Regions from separate parts of the Homo sapiens genome. Here region 2 is linked to region 1. Evidence: promoter capture Hi-C in human tissues and cell types (Jung and others, 2019). All regions are on one chromosome and are shown on one strand. The core of a region is centred on a gene start or on the middle of the fragment in contact, and the rest is flanking DNA. Distances in the headings are between cores, read along the strand shown. Region 1 holds the start of OLFM2 (olfactomedin 2). Region 2 overlaps DNMT1 (DNA methyltransferase 1).

Region 1 (4,960 bases), core at 524-3,023:
GTGGATCACGAGGTCAGGAGTTTGAGACCAGGCTGGCCAATATGGTGAAACCCTGTCTCTACTAAAAACACAAAAAATTAGCCGGCTGTGATGGCGCACACCTGTAATCCCAGCTACTCAGGAGGCTGAGGCAGGAGAATTGCTTGAACCTGGGAGGCAGAGGTTGCAGTGAGCCGAGATCACACCACTGCACTCCAGCCTGGGTGACAGAGCGAGACTTTGTCTCAAAAAAAAAAAAAAAAAAAAAAAAAAAGAGACACATAAAGGTAGCAGTCCCAAACCACCTTGCCCATCTCTCTCTCTTAAGTACGCCCACTCCCTTTTCTCAAGTGTGGACTTTTCCCTTAACAAAAAAATCTCCGAACTTTTCATGATTTTCTGATTCCTCCTTGAATTCATTCTTGCGATGGTGTTAAGAGCCTGGACACCAGCTGGGGTCGAGGCCCCACCAGCGTCTGGGGAGACCCCTCCTAGCCCAACAGTATCAGGGTCACAAAAATGCCAGGCTTCCTGGCCTCGCATATTTTATGCCCGATTTCTTTCCAATCTGACTTATTTGCCCGCCCCCCTCCTCCACCTCTGCCTACATATATCCGAATCCCTAGAGGGGCTGTGGGGAGGAAAGACGACTAGGGACACTTTTTTTTTTTTTTTTTTTTTGAGACAAGGTTTGCTCCTGTTGCCCAGGCTGGAGTGCAATGGCACGATCTCTGCTCACTGCAACCTCTGCCTCCCGGGTTCAAGCGATTCTCCTGTCTCAGCCTCCCGAGTAGCTGGGATTCCAGGCATGCACCACCACGCCCGGCTAATTTTTGTATGTTTTAGTAGAGGTGGGGTTTTGCCATGTTGGCCAGGCTGGTCTTGAACTCCTGACCTCAGATGATCCACCCTCCTCAGCCTCCCAAATTGCTGGAATTACAGGCGTGAGCCACCGCGCCCGGCCTAGGGAGACTTTTGGAGGAGTGAGAGGCAGAGAAAGGCTGGAAAGCCTCCCGAAAGTGAGGCTAGACAAGGACGCCCTTCATATGCAAATGGCTTCGCGTGGAGGCGGTGTTAATATTTTGATTCTCTCGGGGGATGTGGTCTTTCATCTTGGGCTATTGAAACAGGGAGCGAAGAGAAACTCTTCCAGGTGTGGCGGAGGCGGGGAGGCTTCCAGCGGGAGGACTGGTGGGGAAATGGGGCGCCCGGGGAGAGTGAAAACGAGACGCCCCTTTTTGAGGCCAAGCCCACCCACGTGGCCATTTCCATTGGCCTCTTGCCTGATTCTCGGTCTCCTGTCCCCCCAACCTCAATTTTTTCCTCTTATTCCCCGTCTCCATCTATGCCTCACCCCTCTTGTCCTGGCATTGACCCCTCCTCCAACTTCCAATTTCAGATTCTGCCTCAGTTTCCCTGTTGACTCTTGAGTTTTTAGGGAGGGGGCGTTCATCATTTCCCCTCTCTGCTACCAGGCCTTCCTCCTATTCCTCTCCCCCAACCATTCGTCCCCGTCCCACCTGCAACGTGGGAAATGCCCCCGGAGGGTGAAATTTACAAACACGTGACGGGCACCCCTCCCCCACCTCCGCGACCCGCTCCCGGAATGGCCTGGGGGTTGGGGGGCGCTGCCAAGTCCTGTCCTCAGGTCCCCTCGCCGGCGCTGGCTCCCCCACTTCCCCGCCCCCACCCCCCCACCCGACCCTGCTCGAGCTGCTCCCGAAGAGGAGCTGGGGGCGGGGCGGGGGGCGGAGCCCGCAACAAAGACTCGGAGCGAGCGAGGGGGCGGGGGTGGGGCGGAATCCCGGCCGCCGGCGAGGCGGGGGAGGCGGCGGCGCAGGGTCGCCCCGGCCGGGCGGGCGGGGTCGCGCCTGGTGGCGGTCCCCGCGCCGAGGCGCCGCTAGGGCGGGCGGGGGTCGGGACGCCGGGCTAGGGGCGCGTCATGTGGCCGCTCACGGTCCCGCCGCCGCTGCTGCTGCTGCTGTGCTCAGGCCTGGCCGGACAGGTAGGGGCCCGGCGGGCAGGTGCGGGCGCGGGTGGCTCCGGGAGAGGAGGGGGGCGCGGAGGGTTCCCGGAGAAACGGGGTTGGGAGGCTCCACAAGCCCCCCCAGCTGCAGGGCGGCGAGGGGCGGGGGTCGCAGCGGGGGAGGGGCCGGGACGTGCACTCTCTGGCTTGGGAGAGGACGAGGGGGGCTTCAAATCCAGCCTCAAGCTGGGCTGGTTTGGGGGGTGGCGTCTTTGGGGTTCTCAACCCCTCCATGGCCCCGAGCCCCCACCCCGCCATCTCGCTGGAGCTGAATGGGGTTGGGAGGGAAACTTCAGGGGGCATTGGAGGGGGGCGGTTGCTTACCCTTGACTTCCTCTTCGGGGCCGAGATGCCCAGTTTCTGAAGCCCTCCACTCCTCGCCTGCAGCCCCCAGTGTGGGGCAGGGGACGGGACTCACGTGAGAGTGACTGACGGGGACGCGTGTGAAATGCTGTGGGGGTGCAGGGTAAACGTGTGTGTCTTTGTGTCGTGGTTGGGTGTGACCGGGGGGAGTTTGTGTGTGTGGCGGTTGGGGGGCTTGTCCAACTAGTGCCCGAGTTGGGGTGTGATCAGTACGTGAGACAGAGTCTGTGTGTGACCGTGTCCTCATTACTGGCTCCAGATGACTGGGTGTTGTACAATACGTGTGTGGCCAGGTGTGTGGCCGTGTGAGAGCCTTGGAGTGAGCGTGTGCTATTCTGTACCTTTGGGTAAATCACTCTAAAAGGGTGTGTGTGTGTGCAAGCGCTGTGTGTGCAAACGTGTCCATCCATGCACGTGTGTGTGTGTATCTTGGTGCCTTGCTCACAACCGCACACGCCATTCATACCCTTACAGAAGCGGGTCTCCCTCCCCATGGCACCTTTCTCTTGGGCAGGCTCAGGGAGGCTTGCAAAATGTGGGGCGTCCACGCTCTCTTTTGCTATTGGAAAGCCCCTCTCCTCCTCCATCTTGGGAGTGAGAGCACCCCCAAGTTCTCAGATCTGTAGGAGTTCACAGGGAAGCTGGGATCAAAAATAATAAAATAGTCATTATGATAACAGTGATCATTCATTACGTGCTAATTTGAGAGGTGCTGTTTCAATCACACAGCACAGACTAAGGCATTTAACCCCCTCTGCCTCCTCCCTACTAGAGCATGGTATTGTTACCTCATTTTATGGATGGGGAAACTGAGGCGCAGAAAAGTTAAATCACTTGCTCAAGCTCGAGAGTGACAGAGGTGGGACTGAACCGAGGCAGTCCGGCTCCTGAGCCCACACGATTACCCTCTTGTTAAATAATCCGCTCCATGGGTGTGGACAGCGTCCGTGAAGACATTGCTAGGTGGGCTTTTAGGTAGATAGGCAGGGGAGAAACAATTTGGGCACCTTCCCCTTATCAAGAAAAGAATCAGACCCTTGTGCTCACCCCGAGGGGGGTGTTGGGAGGAATGGAGGTTAGACTCCAGATAGAAGGATTTCCAGGCCACGAGGAGAGATTGTGGGGTCCCCTCCCTCGCTCCTCCATTTCCCCACGCATCTCAGCACCCACGCGCTGGGTGGGATAGGGAGTGTGCCCAGCCCCAGGCATGAGGACACACACAATAGGTACTCAATGGATGTGTGAGCCTGAGAGAAGCCAAGAGACACACCTGGGAGACGAGAGACCAAAAGAGGCACACACTTGAGAAACCAGTGGAAAAAAAATGAGCCAGGAATCAAGTTGAATTATCCTTGACCTAGCAGAGGAGACAGAGAACCACCCCCTGTGGCTTCTCCTCCACTCCCTGCTAGGGGGGCACTAGATTTTCTGGCTTCTCACCAAGATTGGCTAGGATGCCAGAGTTTGCTGCCAGAATTGCAATTGGAGGGTGACTCCTACAGCCCCCAGGGCTGGGAGGGAGTTGCTTTGGGGGCGGGACTAACGAGGTCAGTGGAGGCGGGGCTAAAGGACAACGGGGGCGTGGCCAAATGAGGTAATCCGTTAGGGCGGGGCTGGTGGAATCCTGCCGCGGGCTGCAGTGCCTCCAGGCGGCCACCGCGGGAACTACATGGTTGTGAAACAGTCTCGGCGCCCCATACACCCCCTTGGCGTTGGCCCACCAAGCCTGGCACCCCAGGGAAGGGAGGGGTCTGCAGAGAGGATGCTCTACCCACTCTTCGCTCCCTCCATCACTTTCCAAAGACTTCTTCCCTGTCCCTGATGGGCCCAGGGGTCCTTCCTAGAAATCATTGGTTAATCCATTCAATGAACAGATATGATTATGCACTGGGGATACAGCCACCAACTGAGTCATCAAATCCCTGCTCTCCTGGAGTTGACCTAGCAGAGGAGACAGAAAAGAGCCGAATAACCATGTAATACGGTGTCGGCAACTAAATATACATATAATACAATGCAAGTAGCATGAAGAATAACAGATAAAGTATAGAAGATTAGACTGGAGCCGGGTGCTGTGGCTCACGCCTGTAATCCCAGCATTTTGGGAAGTTGAGGCAAGTGGATCGCCTGAGGTCAGGAGTTCGAGACCAGCCTGGCCAACATAGTGAAACCCTGTCTCTACTAAAAATACAAAAAATTAGCTGGGTGTGGTGGCAGGCGCCTGTAATCCCAGCTACTAGGGAGGCTGAGGCAGGAGAATTGCTTGAACCTGGGAGGCAGAGGTTGCGGTGAGCTGCGATCGCCATTGCACTCCAGCCTGGACAACAAGAGTGAAACTCTGTCTCAAAAAAAAAAAAAAAAAAAAAAGATTAGAGTGATAGCAGTCGGGCATGGAGGCTCACGCCTGTAATCCCAGCACTTTGGGAGGCCAGGGTGAGTGGATCACTTGAGGTCAGGAGTTTGAGACCAGCCCGGCCAACATGGTGAAACCCCGTCTCTACTAAAAATGCAAAAAATTAGCCAGGTGTGGTGTTGCACACCTGTAGTCCCAGCTATTCAGGAGGCTGAGGCAGGCGAATTGCTTGAACCTGG
Region 2 (5,167 bases), core at 1,197-3,696, 210 kb before region 1:
GGGGCCAGGGCGCTCCAGGCTGAGCCAGGCTGGCTTTGTGGTGTCCCCCTCCTTACAGACATTGCCAATCCCTCCGCACCAGCTGTTGTCCTAGCCGTCACGTTGGCATAGGTGGCAAACAGACAACATAAATCGTGTAGACTGACCATGATGCTATTGCAGAGCAAAGCTGAGCGTAAAAGTCAACTCGCTGGTTTGGCTGGGTGTGGTTTCTCACGCCTGTAATCCCAGCGCTTTGGGAGGCCGAGGCAGTGGGGAATCATCTGAGGTCAGGAGTCTGAGACCAGCCTGGCCAACATGGTGAAACCTCGTCTCTACTAAAAATACAAAAATTAGCCGGGTGTGGTGGTGCGCGCCTGTAGTCCCAGCTACTCGAGAGGCAGAGACAGGAGAATCACTTGAACCTGGGAGGCAGAGGTTGCAGTGAGCCAAGATCATGCCACTGCACTCCATCCTGGGCAACAGAGTGTGACTCCGTCTCAAAATAAAAAAAGAAAAAAAAAGAACTTACTGGATAAAGCGCGAGGGACAGCTGGGGGCCCACCCCCAAGTTCTGCCTCTGCCCAAGGACACCTCCTCTCCGTCCCCTACTGTGAAGTGGGAGAGTGGGATCTTGCCTGCTGGGGCTCGAAGGGTTGAGTGAGTTGAAAGTGCTCCATACAGTACCTGGCTTAAAGTAAAGGTTTAACGGACATGAGTTACTTCTTGGTTAGAGGGAATCACATCAGATGACTTCTCTGTGTCAGAGGATCGAGGCTCTTCCAGGAAAAACCTAAAGCCACAGATCGTTTCCACACTGATCCATTCTGTGTTTTTTCTAAGAATCAGCGTGTGGTTGGAATTACAGCCAACGTTTTCCAGATGCCTTCCCGGCTCACAATTCCATTTCCTTAGAGCCCCAGCTCCCTTGCCTTAGTTCAGTTACTGTGAATTATGAGAACTGGAGAAGCAGGTTCCCTCCAGCCTTGGCACAGTTGGGGCGCGTTACCCCCTCTGGTTGTCCTTGGTGGGAAGGGGACACCTCCCCGTAGTGTTTTCTGCCAGTTGCTCCTGGCAAAGTGGGAGAGTCAGCACAGAGACGCCTTTGGGGCCCGTCAGACTCCTGGGGGGCCTAGTGGGGAGAACGTGACAGCTGACTTCCCTAACGGCAGGCCTTCTTCAAAGAACAGCTTTTCCACACTAGTCAGACCACACTCCCATTGTCCCAGGCCCTGTGGCGCCTTACATTGGCCTCCAGTGTCGCTTCTAGATCAGAGCCTTAGTCAGGGTAGCGTAGGTTGTATCATAGCAACAACCCCAAATCACAGTGACTTAAAACCACAGAAGCTGGACTGGGTGCGGTGGCTCATGCCTGTCAGGAGTTCAAGACCAAGACCAGCCTGGCCGACATACCTGTCTCTACTAAAAATAAATTAGCCAGGGTTAGCTGGGTGTGGTGGTGGGCACCTGTAATCCCAGCTACTTGGGAGGCCGAGGCACGAGAATCGCTTGAACCTGGGAGGAGGAGTTGCAGTGAGCCGAGATTGTGCCACTGCACTCTAACCTGGGTGACAGAGTGAAACTCTCTCAACAAAAACCACGGTAGCCGCTGTCTCGCTCATACGAGGTGCCCATCACAGGTCAGCAGAGGACTCCACCTGTTGTGTCCCTTGGATATCTGGGCCGCTGGAGTCAGAAGTTGCCAGTGTTTGAGCCCAAGGGAAAGCACACAGGACATTCCCCAGGCAGTGACATCCTCTTTGGTCACTTCTGCCCACGTCACATGCCAGGAAACACAAGATGCCAAGTAGTCGGGAGGCAGGAGCCTGGGGTATTTGAGCAGTGTCAGCCACCACCGTAGCCAGTAATGCGCAGAGGGTGAATGCGTGCTTCAAACTGTGAGACTAAATCTGCAGCTAAATCTTTTTTTTTTTTTTCTGTGAGATGGAGTCTTGCTCTGTCACACAGGCTGGAGTGCAGTGGCACAATCTCAGCTCACTGCAACCTCTGCCTCCTGGGTTCAAGCAATTCTCCTGCCTCAGCCTCCCAAGTAGCTGGAATTATAGGCATGTACCACCACACCCGGCTAATTTTTGTATTTTTAGTAGAGACAGGGTTTTACCGTGTTGGCCAGGGTGGTCTCGAACTTCTGACCTTGTGGTCCACCTGCCTTGGTCTCCCAAAGTGCTGGGATTACAGGCGTGAGCCACAATGCCCAGCCTAAATCATTTCTTAGGGTACACACCTACCTTAATTCATCAGGTGCTTGACTTTAAATGGTTATTTTCACTGGTCAGTCATGCCTGACTGACCACTGCAAGGTGGAAGGTTCATTGATGTCAAGTGGGTGCTTCTCTGCAGCATCAAGCTGTCCAGTCCCGTGAAACGCCCACGGAAGGAGCCCGTGGATGAGGACCTGTACCCAGAGCACTACCGGAAATACTCCGACTACATCAAAGGCAGCAACCTGGATGCCCCTGAGCCCTACCGAATTGGCCGGATCAAAGAGATCTTCTGTCCCAAGAAGAGCAACGGCAGGCCCAATGAGACTGACATCAAAATCCGGGTCAACAAGTTCTACAGGTCAGCAGAGGCCTCTGTTCTTCCACGAGGCCACAGACTCTTCTAGAAGGCTCTGCCTGAAACAAGGTTGTGGCATAGCACCCACAGTTGTTCTAAGAGTTAGGTTGAAGTAGCTGTTTTTCCAAGTGTTTCTGATTATCGGTGGGCACTGATAATGACTAGAATTCTAGTTCCCAGCCCTCACTTTTAGGTCCTTATTTTAATGTTGCAGAGCCCTTTTTCCAAAAGAAATCCTTAAGCTGGCTGGGCACTGTAGCTCACGCCTCTAATCCTAGCACTTTGGGAGGCTGAGGCAGGAAGATCACTTGAGTCTAGGAGTTCAAGACCAGCTTGAGGAAACGTAGTGAGACCCCGGCCCTACCAAAAAAAAAAAAAAAAAAAGACTAGCTGGGCGTGGTGGCACACGCCTGTAATCCCAGCTACTTGGGAGGCTGAGGCTGAAGGGATCACTGAAACCCAGGAATTTGAGGCTGTAGTGAGCCATGATCCCACCACTGCACTCCGGCCTGGGTGACAGCCAGACCCCGTCTCAAAAGAAAAAACGGGTAGAGTGCCTGGGCACCCCCAGAGAACCTCCCAAGCTCCATCTATGACTGTCCAGGTTCTGTCCCGCTGTCCCCACCTCTTCCCAGGTCCTCCTTTCTGTCTCTGGGATTTTTTCTCTTTCCTAAGCTTTTGGCCTATTACGTTTTCTTTTTCTAAGACCCGAGTAACTTGCGGTGATTAGGCATTAACCTGAAACTAGCCTGTACAGGAAGCTATACACTTGCCTCACCTCTTAGCTAACATAGATCAAAGATTTCCTGAAGCCTTTGTAATAACAGGAAATAAAACAAGGGCTGTGAGTGGTACAGGTGAGAGAAACACACTCGAGAGGCTGCTACCGGCAGGCGGACACAGCAGGGCAGGGCCAGGCGTGCAGAGCAAGCAGCCAAGCTGACCTAATGGTTGGGGGGTCTCTACCCTGTGGTTCCCTAATTGGGGGCGAATCTACCTTGCAGTTCCCTCATTTGGGGAGGGGTTATCTTTACCTGCGGTTCCCTAAGTAGGGGGGTCTTTACCCTATGACTCCCTAACTGGGGAGGTCTTTACCCTGCGGTTCCATAACTGGGGGGTCTTTACCCTGCGGTTCCCAACTGGGTCGGGGGTCATTACCTGGCGGTTCCCTAATTGTGGGGGAATCTACCTTGCAGTTCCCTAATGTGAGGAGGGGATATCTTTACCCTGTGATTCCCTTACTGGGAGGGGTCTTTACCCTGCGATTCCCTAACTTGGGGGATCTTTACCCTGTGGTTCCCTAACTAGGGGGGGTCTTTACCCTGCAGTTCCCTAAATGGGGGGGAGTCTACCTTGCAGTTCCCCAGTGTGGGGAGGAGATATCTTTACCCTGCAGTTCCCTAACTGAGGGGGTCTTTACCCTGCGGTTCTCGAACTAGGGGGTCTTTACCCTGCAGTTCCCTGAGCACCCCAGGAACATGGTACTGTTTAATTCAGCATAAGCTCACCACAAAGGAGAGCTCCTAACGAGGCCTCTCCCGCTCGCAGGCCTGAGAACACCCACAAGTCCACTCCAGCGAGCTACCACGCAGACATCAACCTGCTCTACTGGAGCGACGAGGAGGCCGTGGTGGACTTCAAGGCTGTGCAGGGCCGCTGCACCGTGGAGTATGGGGAGGACCTGCCCGAGTGCGTCCAGGTGTACTCCATGGGCGGCCCCAACCGCTTCTACTTCCTCGAGGTGGTGCCCCTGCTTGCTAGAGGGAAGGCTTCGGGGTCAAAGTTGGCCAGAAGGAGTCTGATGTCGGGTTATACACAAGGCGGCTTGGCTGCAGGGTTTCAGCTTTTGTAAGAAGTGGGTGGTTGGCTGACGTGAAGCTGTTCTGCAGGAGCTTTACGGGGGTCTGAGCAGGGTTCTCCAGAGCACAAGTTGTATGAGATTCAAGTGGTCCCGGAGTTTAACACTCCTGGTTTTTAAAAAGTACGTCATTAGAGAACCTAACGTTTTAGTGTCTTGGTGCAACTGAACGTTGAGGACCATGAGGCAGCTTCCACCAGCCTGACTGGTGTCTTAGTATGAGTTGGAGAAGGTGCCCCTGCTCCTGGGTCCCTTGGGCCAGGCGCCTACGTCCAGGCCCAGCCCACATGCCTGTGCGGGTGGCCCTCGTTATGGAGAGGGCCCACGAGTCAGCTGATCAAGCTCATGACTTGTAAATTGTTGGGGCTTGGCCTTTCCGTGTTGTTACCTTAAAACGATACATCCACGTTCTCCCAGGCATGGATGAGGTAGCCCAATTGGACAGCAGATTCTGCATAGCACTTTTTCCTGTTCTAGAAGGTACTCTCAAGTGCTTGTAATAGGCATTTCAGTGTCAGCCAGATCAAATGTTAGTATTAATAAAATGGATTGTTTTAAGTTTCTATTGTAGCAAAGTCAAACTACTCTTATTGGTGGCTAATTGGTCATGGCCCCACTGAGGGAGAAATTAAGTGACTATCAAATTGCCTTCTTACTAGTCTGCGTTAGAGAGGGGACAGTGCGTTTCTCTCCCAAACGATTGCAGTTCTCTCCTTTTCAGGCCTATAATGCAAAGAGCAAAAGCTTTGA

What was found. Contacts are between HindIII fragments. The study calls those that stand out against the background at their distance.
Region 2: a contact is called between a fragment that was not itself captured here and the fragment with the promoter of OLFM2 in region 1, in 1 of the 25 tissues and cell types used here (mesenchymal stem cells).

The regions. Positions count from the first base shown.
Region 1 is chr19:9,933,328-9,938,287 of GRCh38, reverse strand. OLFM2 (olfactomedin 2) reads left to right here and starts at 1,773. Exons shown (of 6, transcript NM_058164.4): 1 at 1,773-1,984. The coding sequence starts at 1,922. RefSeq lists enhancers at 754-1,256, 1,923-2,517. The HindIII fragment of the contact is 7,550 bases long and covers 1-4,960 here.
Region 2 is chr19:10,141,161-10,146,327 of GRCh38, reverse strand. It overlaps DNMT1 (DNA methyltransferase 1), which reads left to right. Exons shown (of 41, transcript NM_001130823.3): 29 at 2,341-2,562; 30 at 4,108-4,300; 31 at 5,139-5,167. Among named protein-coding and RNA genes, the nearest start is that of EIF3G, 24 kb to the right of the region's middle. The HindIII fragment of the contact is 3,505 bases long and covers 694-4,198 here.